Regions from separate parts of the Homo sapiens genome. Here region 1 is linked to region 2. The links are contacts of gene promoters, found by promoter capture Hi-C in blood cells and fetal thymus (Javierre and others, 2016). All regions are on one chromosome and are shown on one strand. Each heading gives the region's core, a stretch centred on a gene start or on the middle of the fragment in contact. The rest is flanking DNA. Distances are from core to core; before and after follow the strand shown. Region 1 overlaps PVR (PVR cell adhesion molecule). Region 2 holds the start of ZNF225 (zinc finger protein 225).

What was found. The method cuts DNA at HindIII sites, captures the fragments that hold promoters and counts their contacts. A CHiCAGO score of 5 or more calls a contact.
Region 1: a contact is called between a fragment that was not itself captured here and the fragment with the promoter of ZNF225 in region 2, in 1 of 17 cell types (erythroblasts). The highest score is 5.5, in erythroblasts.

Annotation. Positions count from the first base shown.
Region 1 is chr19:44,659,241-44,665,143 of GRCh38, forward strand. It overlaps PVR (PVR cell adhesion molecule), which reads left to right. Exons shown (of 8, transcript NM_006505.5): 7 at 2,052-2,083; 8 at 2,500-5,903. The coding sequence ends at 2,571. Among named protein-coding and RNA genes, the nearest start is that of MIR4531, 8.5 kb to the left of the region's middle. The HindIII fragment of the contact is 3,377 bases long and covers 706-4,082 here.
Region 2 is chr19:44,110,405-44,116,738 of GRCh38, forward strand. ZNF225 (zinc finger protein 225) reads left to right here and starts at 2,995. Exons shown (of 5, transcript NM_013362.4): 1 at 2,995-3,165; 2 at 5,356-5,438. The coding sequence starts at 5,424. It overlaps ZNF225-AS1 (ZNF225 and ZNF224 antisense RNA 1), which reads right to left and starts at 2,779. Exons shown (of 2, transcript NR_033341.1): 1 at 2,418-2,779. RefSeq lists a silencer at 2,706-3,056 and an enhancer at 2,749-3,448. The HindIII fragment of the contact is 4,811 bases long and covers 2,198-6,334 here.

The DNA.
Region 1 (5,903 bases), core at 1,144-3,643, 550 kb after region 2:
GGAGGAGGTGGCAGGAACTGGCACCTCTGATCCTCAGCTCTAAAAGGGTCTGATGCTTTCACACCTCAAGAGATTTGCACAGGCCGTTCCCCTGCCTGGAGCACCCTCCCATGGCTCCTTCTGGAGAAGTGTGCCAGCTCATTCTGTAATCAGAGGAACGATGCTTTGCTGAGCACTGTCTACATGCCACTTTGTATGTATAACCCCCTCGATTTTAATTTTTAATTTTTTTTATTATTTATGTATTTATTTATTTATTTTTGAGACAGGCTCTCACTGTCGCCCAGGCTGGAGTGCAGTGGTGCGATCTCGGCTCACTGTAGCCTTCACCTCCCAGGTTCAAGCGATTCTCATGCCTCAGCCTCCCAAGGAGCGGGGATTACAGGCACGCACTACTATGCCCAGCAATTTTTGTATTTTTAGGAGAGACAGCGTTTCGCCATGTTGGCCAGGCTGGTCTCAAACCCCTGGTCTCCTGTGATCCACCCGCCTCAGCCTCCCAAAGTGCTGGGATTACAGGCATGAGCCACCACACCTGGCCTGTACAATCTCCTTGAATGCCCACAACCACCCAGCAAAGTGGTTCTCCCGTGAGCCCCATGTTACAGAGGAGGAAGTATTTGCTTTGAGAGATGAAGTTACCTGCCAATGGTCAAACAGCTGGACATGGTTGTTGGGGAGAAGAAGCCAGATCTTTGACTACCAAGCTTTTCCTTCAACCACTAAACAAAGCTGCTCCCTTACAACCCAGGCGGATACTGCCTCGTCCAGGAAGCCCTCCCTGACCCCCAAGCATGAGCCAAGCATCCACTAGGCTCTCCCACTCCAGCCTTGCCCATTCTGGGTCATCACCGTGGGGGACTTGTTTGTCATCCCCAGTGGACTGTGAGCCCCAAGATAGCAGACCTGAGGCTGTCACTGTCATGACTGTGTCCCCAGGACCGCCTACCACTGGGCCGGGCATAAAAGAGGCACTCGAGGAAGTGTTTGCTGAGTGATTCAATGTGTCAGCTCCAGAGCCAGACTGCCTGTATCTGGGCCCTAAAGCTACTGCTTGATTAGTGATGTCACCATAGGCAAATAGCTTAAGCTGTATGACTCAGTTTCCTCATCTGTAAAATGGGGTGATGGTACCTAATAATACAGTAGAGCACTTAACACAGTAGGTGGCACATGGTAAGCCACATACTGAGTATGTATTTGCTATGATTGTTATTGCTATTATTACTATTATTGTTATTATTAACATAAACTGCACAAGAGCAGGCTTTTTGTTTGTTTGTTTGTGTTTTGTTTTGAGACAAGATCTTGCTCTGTTGCCCAGACTGGAGTAGTGCAGTGATGTGATCTTGGCTCACTGCAGCCTCAACCTCCCAGGCTCAGGTGATTCTCCCACCTCAGCCTCTCGAGTAGCTGGGATTATAGGCGTGCACTCCCACGCCTGGCTAATTTTTTATATTTTTAGTAGAGATGGAGTTTCGTTGTGTTGCCCAAGCTGGTCTCAAACTCCTAGACTCCAGCAATCCGCCCACCTCAGCCTCCCAGAGTGCTGGAATTATAGGTGTGAGCCACCACGCCTGGCCAAGAGCAGGCATTTTTATCTGTTTTGTTCACAGCTGTGTCCCCAGCACCTAGAATGTACCTGGCACAAAGTAGACATTCACCATTTGCTGAATAATACTACTATTTGCTAAATAAACCCCTGTTGAATAGTCTAGGAAACTGAACACAGAGAGGTTAAGTCACTTGTCCAAGTTCACACAGCTCCTAAAGGACAGAGATGGAATTTGAACCCATCCATCTGGTTCCAGAGCCAGGCTCGATATTTATGGATATTTCATAACCAAGTGAATAACTGGATGGCTAAATCCTTAGAAAGCACACCCTCCATCCCTGTCTGACACACGTGTATACCATTAAGGGAAATGGCACCCCCATGTAATAGCAGAGGCAGAACTTGACATTTTCAGGGCCCTGACACCCAGGCATGTCTTCTTCCCATGCTTCCCAGCATTATTCCTTCCTGACGACTTCCCCTCCTATTTCCCCAGGTACAGAGCATGCCAGCGCCTCAGCTAATGGGGTAAGTGCAGTGTTGGAGCTAAGGAGGGTGTGGGGTCTGCACGAACTACAGACCAGACGTCTTCAGATGCCCACGGCCCGGCCTCAGGAGCCTGGGTCTTTTCTCCTGGTGCCTCGAGCAGCATTTCCCAACCCTTCCTGCTGGGCGGAATCCCCTGTAGAGTTTGCTAAGACGCAGCCCCAGACAGTCTGGTCTGTGATGGGGCCAGGGAATCTGCATTTTAATATCCGCTCTCTCCCCCCTGCCCCACGCCCCTTCAATTCCACCCATGGCCACACCTTGAGAAGCACTGCCCTGGCTTCCAGGGAGAGAGGAGGGGACGGGCCTGCAGTTCTTTGCACATGGGGCTTCAGTGGGAAGATGTTTGATTTTGTTCAAAAGAGCCCCAAGGCTAAAATTTGAAAACCCTCTTCTAGCATGTCTCCTATTCAGCTGTGAGCAGAGAGAACAGCTCTTCCCAGGATCCACAGACAGAGGGCACAAGGTGACAGCGTCGGGACTGAGAGGGGAGAGAGACTGGAGCTGGCAAGGACGTGGGCCTCCAGAGTTGGACCCGACCCCAATGGATGAAGACCCCCTCCAAAGAGACCAGCCTCCCTCCCTGTGCCAGACCTCAAAACGACGGGGGCAGGTGCAAGTTCATAGGTCTCCAAGACCACCCTCCTTTCATTTGCTAGAAGGACTCACTAGACTCAGGAAAGCTGTTAGGCTCACAGTTACAGTTTATTACAGTAAAAGGACAGAGATTAAGATCAGCAAAGGGAGGAGGTGCACAGCACACGTTCCACGACAGATGAGGCGACGGCTTCCATCTGCCCTCTCCCAGTGGAGCCATATAGGCAGCACCTGATTCTCACAGCAACATGTGACAACATGCAAGAAGTACTGCCAATACTGCCAACCAGAGCAGCTCACTCGAGATCTTTGTGTCCAGAGTTTTTTGTTTGTCTTGAGACAGGGTCTGGCTCTGTTGGCAGACTAGAGTACAGTGGTGAGATCACAGTTCATTGCAGCCTTGACTTCTCAACGCCAAGTCATCCTCCCACCTCAGCCTCCTGAGTAGCTATGACTACAGGTATGTGCCACCACGTCTGGCTAATCTTTTTATTATTTGTAAAGTCGAGGTTTCCCTGTGTTGCCCAGGCTGGTCTTGAACTCTTGGCTCCAAGTGATACTTCTGCCTTGGCCTCCCAAAGTGCTGAATTAAGCAGCTCACCATCCACACGGCTGACCTCATACATCAAGCCAATACCGTGTGGCCCAAGACCCCCACCATAAATCACATCATTAGCATGAACCACCCAGAGTGGCCCAAGACTCCAAGATCAGCTACCAGGCAGGATATTCCAAGGGCTTAGAGATGAATGCCCAGGAGCTGAGGATAAAGGGCCCGATCTTTCTTTGGGCAAGGTTAAGCCTTTACTGCATAGCAGACCACACAGAAGGGTGTGGGCCACCAGAGAATTTTGGTAAAAATTTGGCCTCTGGCCTTGAGCTTCTAAATCTCTGTATCCGTCAGATCTCTGTGGTTACAAGAAACAGCCACTGACCCTGGTCACCAGAGGCTGCAATTCAGGCCGCAAGCAGCTGCCTGGGGGGTGTCCAAGGAGCAGAGAAAACTACTAGATGTGAACTTGAAGAAGGTTGTCAGCTGCAGCCACTTTCTGCCAGCATCTGCAGCCACTTTCTGCCAGCATCTGCAGCCAGCAAGCTGGGACTGGCAGGAAATAACCCACAAAAGAAGCAAATGCAATTTCCAACACAAGGGGGAAGGGATGCAGGGGGAGGCAGCGCTGCAGTTGCTCAGGACACGCTCCTATAGGACCAAGATGGATGCGACCCAAGACCCAGGAGGCCCAGCTGCTCAGTGCAACTGACAAGTTAAAAAGGTCTATGATCTTGAGGGCAGACAGCAGAATTCCTCTTATAAAGAAAACTGTTTGGGAAAATACGTTGAGGGAGAGAAGACCTTGGGCCAAGATGCTAAATGGGAATGCAAAGCTTGAGCTGCTCTGCAAGAGAAAATAAGCAGGACAGAGGATTTGCTCTGGACAGAGATGGAAGAGCCGGGAACAGAGAAGTGTGGGGAAGAGATAGGAACCAGCAGGATGGCAGGGGCAAAGGGCTCAAGGGTGAGGAGGCCAGTGGGACCCCACAGAGTTGGGGAGATAAAGGAACATTGGTTGCTTTGGTGGCACGTAAGCTCCTTGTCTGTCTCCAGCACCCAGAATCTCATTAAAGCTTATTTATTGTACCTCCAGCGGCTGTGTGCAATGGGGTCTTTTGTGGAAATCAAGGAGCAGACAGGTTTCATGTGTACTGTCACCACGTGGGATGGAACCAGAGGCATGGAAGCAAGACGCTAAATGAAGAGGGCCATAAGGGCTGGGATTCCCAGGCACCTTAGGAACAGCTTGTCTTTTTTTTTTTCCTCTCCAAAAAAAATGTTTAAGGGACGGTGTCTCCTGTCACCCAGGCTGGAGTGCAATGGCACGATCATAGCTCATTGCAGCCTCTAACTCCGGGGCTCAAGCAATCCTCCCACCTCAGCCTACCAAGTAGCTGTGACCACAGCTGCCCCTCACCATGCTAAGCTAATTTTTTTAATTAGATAGTACATAAACGTCCCAAAATTAGAAGATAAAAAGACATGAGGGATCCATTCTAATTTGTGTTTGGAGTGTAATGGTCCAGCTCCATTCTTCTGCACATGGATATCCAGTTTTACACAACACTGTGAATGTAATGAATGCCACTGAATCATACACTCAAAAATAGCTAAAATGGCAAATTGTCTGTTATCTCTTTTTAACCACCATTTTTGAAAATTAATTATACCAAAAAACCATTGAATAGTGCACTTTATTTATTTATTTATTTGTTTATTTATTTATTTATTTTAGAAATAAGAGTCTCACTTTGTTGCCCAGGCTGGAGTGCAGTGGCGTGATCATGGCTCATTGCAGCCTCGACCTGCTGGGCTCGGGCTATCCTTCCATCTCAGCCTCCCGAGTAGCTGGGACTATAGGTGGGCGCCACCCCACCTGGCTAAATCTCTTTTTAACTTTTGTAGAGATAGGCATCTCGCTATGTTGCCTAGGCTGGGCTGGAACTCCTGGGCTCAAGTGCTCCTCCTGCCTTGGCCTCCCAAAGCGCTAGGATTACAGATGTGAGCCACCGCGCCCACCCTGAACCTTACTTTTTTTGCTCAGTTTCTGGTAATTCAGAGAATGCCTCCTGAGTTGTTCTACACCCACCTCATATTCCATGGGAGGGCTGTACAGGGCTTTTTTAACGAGGCCTCTAAGGACAGGCATTTGTATCCTTTCCAGCCTTTCACTATTACAATGTTGTAGTGAATAACTTTACACACTGTCATTTATTTTACTTTTTTTTTTTTTTATTTTAGAGAAAGGAATCTTGCCATCTTGCCCAGGCTGGTCTCAAATTCCTGGGCCCAAACAATCCTCCCGCCTTGGCCTCCTAAAGTACTGGGATTTATAGGCATAAGCCACCGTGCCTGGCCAATGCACACTGTCATTTAGCTCATGTTAACACCTGAGTGTAGGACACACTCCTGGAGGTGGAATTGCTGGGCCAAAGAGTATGTTTCTTGTCATTGTGATAGATATTGACAAATGAACCCTCACAGAAGTTGTGCTGAGTTCTGTTCCCACCAGCGACGTAGGCGATGACCTTTTTCTGGAGGGAGGGGGCATCCTTGGAGTCCACAGAGCCAGGAATGGAGAGTGGGCCCAGAATTTTGGTATAGGTGTTGTATAAACTTATAGTAAGGTTAAGAAAACCGCAACTATCCTTA
Region 2 (6,334 bases), core at 1,745-4,244:
CTGCCACTAAAACCCTGTGACCCCGGGGGTCCAAAAGTGTTTGAAATGTCCGTGGCAGATAGTATGTTTGAAGCCTATGGTTGGCCCTAATTGGAGAATCAAAATTCAGATGCTTAGTATTTTGAAGCAAATTTCTGCCATCCTCTGCATATACTTACTCTCCTCTGGAGAAGAAGCTTTTCATTTTGCTAGGGTGTTTTGTTTTGTTTTGTTTTTGTTTTTGTTTTTTGAGACGAGTCTTGCTCTGTGGCCCAAGCTAGAGTGCAGTGGTGCAATCTTGGCTCACTGCAACCTCTGCCTCCCGGTTTCAAGCGATTCTCCTGCCTCAGCCTCCCGAGTAGCTAGGATTGCAGGTGCCCCGCCACCGCACCCGGCTGATTTTTGTATTTTTAGTAGAGACGGGGTTTCACCATCTTGGCCAGGCTGGCCTCAAACTCCTGACCTCGTGATCCACCCGCCTTGGCCTCCCAAAGTGCTGGGATTACAGGTGTGAGCCACCACGCCCGGCCACTAGGGGTCTTAAAACGGACAGAACACTTGACCACAGACCACCAAATTAACATGTGACTTATGCTTTCCATCATGAATCGGGTGTTGACCCCTGCACCTTTTTAAGTTACATGTGCAGATTAGTATTCCATTTGGAAGTGGTATATATGAGATTGTGTTTGTGCAGGCTCTGAAGCCACAGGTAAGTGCACCTAATATTCATCTCCCTACTCTTGCTGTATTCAGAATGAGTGAATATAAAGAGAAGTCATCTGAAATTATTGTGTCTCAGCAGCAGAAAGAAGTGGAATACACGGTTGGACGCGGTGGCTCACGCCTGTGATCCCAGCATTTTGGGAGGCCGAGGCGGGTGAATCACCTGAGGTCGGGAGTTTGAGACCAGCCTGACCAGCATGGAGAAACCCCCTCTCTACTAAAAATACAAAATTAGCCGGGCGTGGTGGCACATGCTTGTAATCCCAGCTACGCTGGAGGCTGAGGCAGGAGAATCGCTTGAACGCGGGAGGCGAAACTCCCTCTCAAAACAAAAAACAAACAAAAAACAACCAAAACTGAAAGCTGGTAATGAAACAAATACGTATACACGAACATTTGTAGCAACACTGTTCACTACAGCCAAAAGGTGAAAAGAAGCCAAATGTGCGTCAATGTATGAATGGAGAAACAAATTGTAGTATAAACATAAAATATTCATCTATGAAAAGGAATGAAGTACTGATACGTGGTATGATGTGAATAACATTAAAAATATTATGCTAAGCAAAGGGAGTTAGAAACAAAATGTTCCATTCATTTTTATGATTTGTCCAAAATAGGTAATAGAAAAGAGAGAAAGATTCATGTTTCCCCAGGAATGGGATTATGGACAACAGTAGTGATTGCTTAGTGGGCATGGGGTTTTCTTTGGGTGATAAAAATGTTTTGTAATTCAAGAGGTGGTGGTTTCACAATGAAGCAGCTACTTTGTCTGAGGTTTAAACCCGGGGTTCGTCGTTAAGCGCCAGAAAAATTTAGGACACGGACACACAAAAACTCCTCAGTTTAGGAGCGGAGGTTTAATAGGAAGAAGAGAAAGAGAAACGGGTTCCTCCATAGAGGAAGGGGTCTCCGAGCGGAAAAGGGTCGGCTGGCAGTGAATGTGCTGAGTTTTACAGACCAGTTTGAGGAGGCAGTGTCTGATTTACATAGGGGTCATAGATTGGTTCGATCAGTTATGACGTTTACATAGTGCGTGGGGAAGGCTGGTCGCCCCACCCTAATCTTCTTATGCAAATAGGCTTCCCAGTTGATTGGCCCATCTTGCCAGCTTCTTACTGTGCACGTGGCTGACAAAGAGAAGGGAAGATGGAGCCGCCATCTTTAACATGATTGGCACAACTGCTGGTATCTATGTCTGCGGCAGCTGGATTTTACAGGCTGCTCTTCCTTAGGAAGGGAAATAATTTGGGGCTGCTTTTCATTAAAAAGAAAAGCCTTACCGAGGGCTCCCATACCCTATCTGCCTAAGTGATGGCTTCTTAACTCGTATATATTAACAACACTGTATTCGTACTAGATGCCATTGCCATTGAATTATGTGCCTTAAAATAATTTTGTTTTGTGAATTACACCTCAAAAATATTTTTTAAATAATAAAACGACCACGTTAAAAACGTTTTGCATAGCGAAAAACAAGTCAAAGGAAAAAAGCTTTTTGGTTGAGCAATATTTGATACAATGTTAATATGAGTATGTAAATAATACTTAACGGAGGGGAAAAAACTAAACACTCAATAGAAATGTGGGCAAACTATTTGACCAATTCACAAAGACTATAATAGTGGCAACGGAAAATATGCACGGATGTTCCACTTTATTTACAAAAGAACAAATACAAATTAAAACTACATTTAGAAACCATTTCTTACCATTAGATTAGCAAAACTTAACTCCTCGAAGACTGTGTCTTCTCGCTTGTTCCCTTTCCAATAACACTCCTGTTATCATTGGAGGCGTTTAGACTTCAGAAATTCCTGTCTATTCAGTATTTTCTGTCCTGGACCAGGGAGAGAGAAGGACGACTCTCAGGATAACAGTTCACATTCCCCACTAGGCAGGCGCTCGTGGCTTTGGGATTCGTTCCCAGTGGGCACCTCGGAGTGGCAACGCTTCCCCCTGAAGAATGAGATTTTGAGCGTTTTTCCTTCAGCATTCGGAGGAGTGTAATCCAAATGCTCTGTGGAGTCGTACACACTGGCTCCAGAAGGAGGATACAAGCAATTCTGGGAATGGTAGTCCAGACGCTCAGTGGAGTAGCGGTCAGCTTGGCTCCGGCAGGCGAATCAGGGGATTTCTGGGAAATGTAGTCCAGACGCTCAGTGGAGTCTCGGTCAATTTGACTCCGGCAGGTGGATCCCAGGGAATTCTGGGAAGTGTAGTCCAGACGCTCGGGGTCGTCGCGGTCAGTTTGTCTCAGGAATTCTGGGAAGTGGAGTCCAGACACTCAGTGGAGTAGCGGGCCACTTCCGCTCCGTTACTGTGAGGTTGCTGCAGTTTTGTCCCTGGTAGTTTGGGTCAGTTCCGCGAGACCCTTCTGAATTTCCTGGACCTACGCATTGGATCCTTAACGAACTGGTGATCGAATTAGGGGAAAAGAAACCTCGTCGGAGAGCAGAGGTTTGGCGGAGCGGGGCCGCTGTTTTCGTTCTCGTCAGTGGAGCCTTCTTGGGCTTGGGGCTCTCCTCGCGTCCCCGGGGTGTTTGGGACTTGGTCGGGTCGCGTCTCGCCTGGTTTTAGGGTCTCCGGGGCTCTGAGCTCGCCCACTCGGCCTCCCTGCACCCCACGCGCGTGGCCACTTCCTCGCGATAAAACGCTGGGATGTTACTTAATCTCCTTGGGTCTCCCGTTACAGTTCTTTAAGATGGGGAGTTTAGGACCATCCTAATAGAATCGTTTTGGGAACTGAAAGCGGTAACACAAATGAGAGCCTTAAAGCAGCCCCTGTCACTTGGTGACTGGTGGTCTCTTGTTAATTTCCCACGAAGCCTGTCAGGTCCCCGGGTGGGGTGAAACTCCAGCTGCAGGGGCACCGGCCCTTCTCCCTGATTCCTGCAAGACGCTGGGTGATCCCGGACGCCTTCTGACCTCTCTTTTAGGAAGGCGAGGGTTGCATCCACTTCCAGGAGGGGAGAGGAGCATTTAACTTTTATGGGGCACGGCGACCACGGTCAGAGTGTTTCACAGCCTTCTCCTTACCCAGCCCGACCTTTCCAAAAGAGCTGCAGGGAGGGACTTCTTGGCTTCTGAGGGCAAAGCTCTACGTGAGTGATCCTTGGCTTTTTTCTTTGACAGAGATGCTCACCCCAACCGAGAGTGTATAGGATGTGTCTTCGGGCATGGGTGTTGCTTTCAGTTGTCATGTTTTTCTAGTCTTTAATCTTGAAAGATAGCATAGCTTTCATCGTTTTTTCTTGGTATTTTATCCTTGTTATTTTTGAAGAGTATAGATGAAGTTATTTTGGTCAAAGATGTTCATTTGGAGTTTTTCTGATGTATTTCACGTTTAACTTCAAAATATGCATTTTTTGCTGGAATACCACAGAAGTGGTAAATCTCTCTCTCTCTTTTTTTTTCTTGAGACGGAGTTTCGCTCTTGTCGCCCAGGCTGTAGTGCATGGCACGATCTCAGCTCATTGCAACATCCACCTCCTGGGTTCAAGCTATTCTCCTGCCTCAGCCTCCCAAGTAGCTGGGATTACAGGTGCCTGCCACCACATCCGGCTAATTTTTGTATTTTTAGTAGAGAAGGGATTTCACCATGTTGGCCAGGCTGGTCTCAGACTCCTGACCTCAGGTGATTCAACCGCCTTGGCCTCCCAAAGTGTGGGATTACAGGCATGAGCCACCGTGCCCAGCCTGAAGTGGTAAATTTCTTATTGCAACATAACAGGGGCCATATGTCAGTTTGTCACTTCATTGGTGATCTCAACTTTGTTCACTTGGCTAAAGTCATGTTTGTCAGATTTCCGCATTGTAAAATTATTTTGAATTTTTTTTTTTACCCCAGGAACACAGATTCAAGTTGCTCTCAATATACACTCCCTAATTTTTTAGTTAAATAAAATTTTGTAAGGAGAAATACATTTATTAGTGCACATTCTACTGTAAAGGTGAACTCTCCCTTCTCCTTCATTTGCTTATTCATTCATTCAACTATAAATATTCTATCAGTGTAGATCCAGAATCCAGTCTTATTAAGTTAAATGACATGTGGATGAACAATTACCAATGCTTTGTCCAACTTTATTGAGGTGTATTCTACATATCATAGAAACTACCCATTTCGTGTGTACACTTTAATGATTTTTAGGAACTTTGTGGAGTGGAATAAACATCACCATAATTCAGTTTAAATAATTTTCATCCCCCATTAAGCCTCCTTGTGCTCACTTATAGTTAATCCTCTTTGTCACCTCAAATATGCAGAGACCACCTATCTACTTTCTCGTTATATACACTTGCCTACTCTGGAATTTCATAGATATAGGATCATGCAATATGTGGGCCTTCCTATGTGACTGGCTTCTTTCACTTAGCATAATGTTTCCAAAGTTCATGCGTGTTGTAGCATGAATCAGTACTTCATTCCTTTTAATTTCCAAATAAGATTCCATTGTATGGATAGGCCACAATTTGTCTATCCATGTACGCATAGGAGGGAGTTTGTTGGTGTGCAGTTTTGGGTTACTATGAATGATGCTGTTGGGAACATTCATGTGTTAATTTACAATACACATTCGTGTTGGTGGATGGCATCCCTGGCCACACTTTCATGTCTCTTTTTCTGCCTTCCCTGGTACTTTCCAGGCAGGATTCTGCTTTCCCTTGGACTGTATCACTCAGGACTCTGAATATTCCCTGAAATAGGAGGAAAAATGACCACGTTGAAGGTGAGTAGAGCTTGCCTCTCTTGCTGTTAAAATTTCTTTTATGGAGACTTGTTCTGTCGCCAAGGCTGGAGTGCAGTGGCCTGATTTTGGCTCATTGCAACCTCCACCTCCGGAGTTCAAGTGATTCTCCTGCTTCAGCCTCCCAAGTAGCTGGGACTACAGGCACACACCACCACACCCAGAAAATTTTTGTATTTTTAGTAGAGACGGGGTTTCATCATCTTGGCCAGGCTGTTCTCAAACTCCTGACCTCAGGTGATCTGCCTGCCTTAGCCTCCCAAAGTGCTGGAATTGCAGATGTGAGCCACCGTGCCCGGCCGTATTTCTTCTCACTACTCATATTCTCACAGGTTCTTCTCAGTCTTGGGAAGACTTAGGGAGTACAACAGAGATATAGCATGGGACAAACAGAATCTAGCTCTTCCCGTGTGAACACCTCCAATAATCCTTGTGTGAAGCAGCAGTTAAGCAGTTATAGCCTGTTGTGTTGTGCCAACACGAGAGCCAGCGTCCACAGGTGGCACTGCTCCTCCCAGGCACCATTTTGGGGTGATCTTCTTTCTTCCTGACATGACACCTACTCAGATGCACCCAGTGCTCCAGGCACCCAAGGACAGTGATAACCATAGTCATGATAGAAAATCTTTACTTTCAGTATGGTAAAGGGTACCTCACACAATGTTACCAGAAAATATAACAGCCTAGAGCAAAAATATTCACTACTTGTATATTTGAAACAGATAAAATCCAAAATAAGAATCTTATGTACAGAATAGAAAAAGAAAATCCAAAGGAATGTGAATAAAAGACATTAACAGGCAAGTTTAAAAGGAGAAATTGAGATGGCCAATAAATATTTGAAAAGGTGATGGTATTATTTATAATCAAATAAGTGA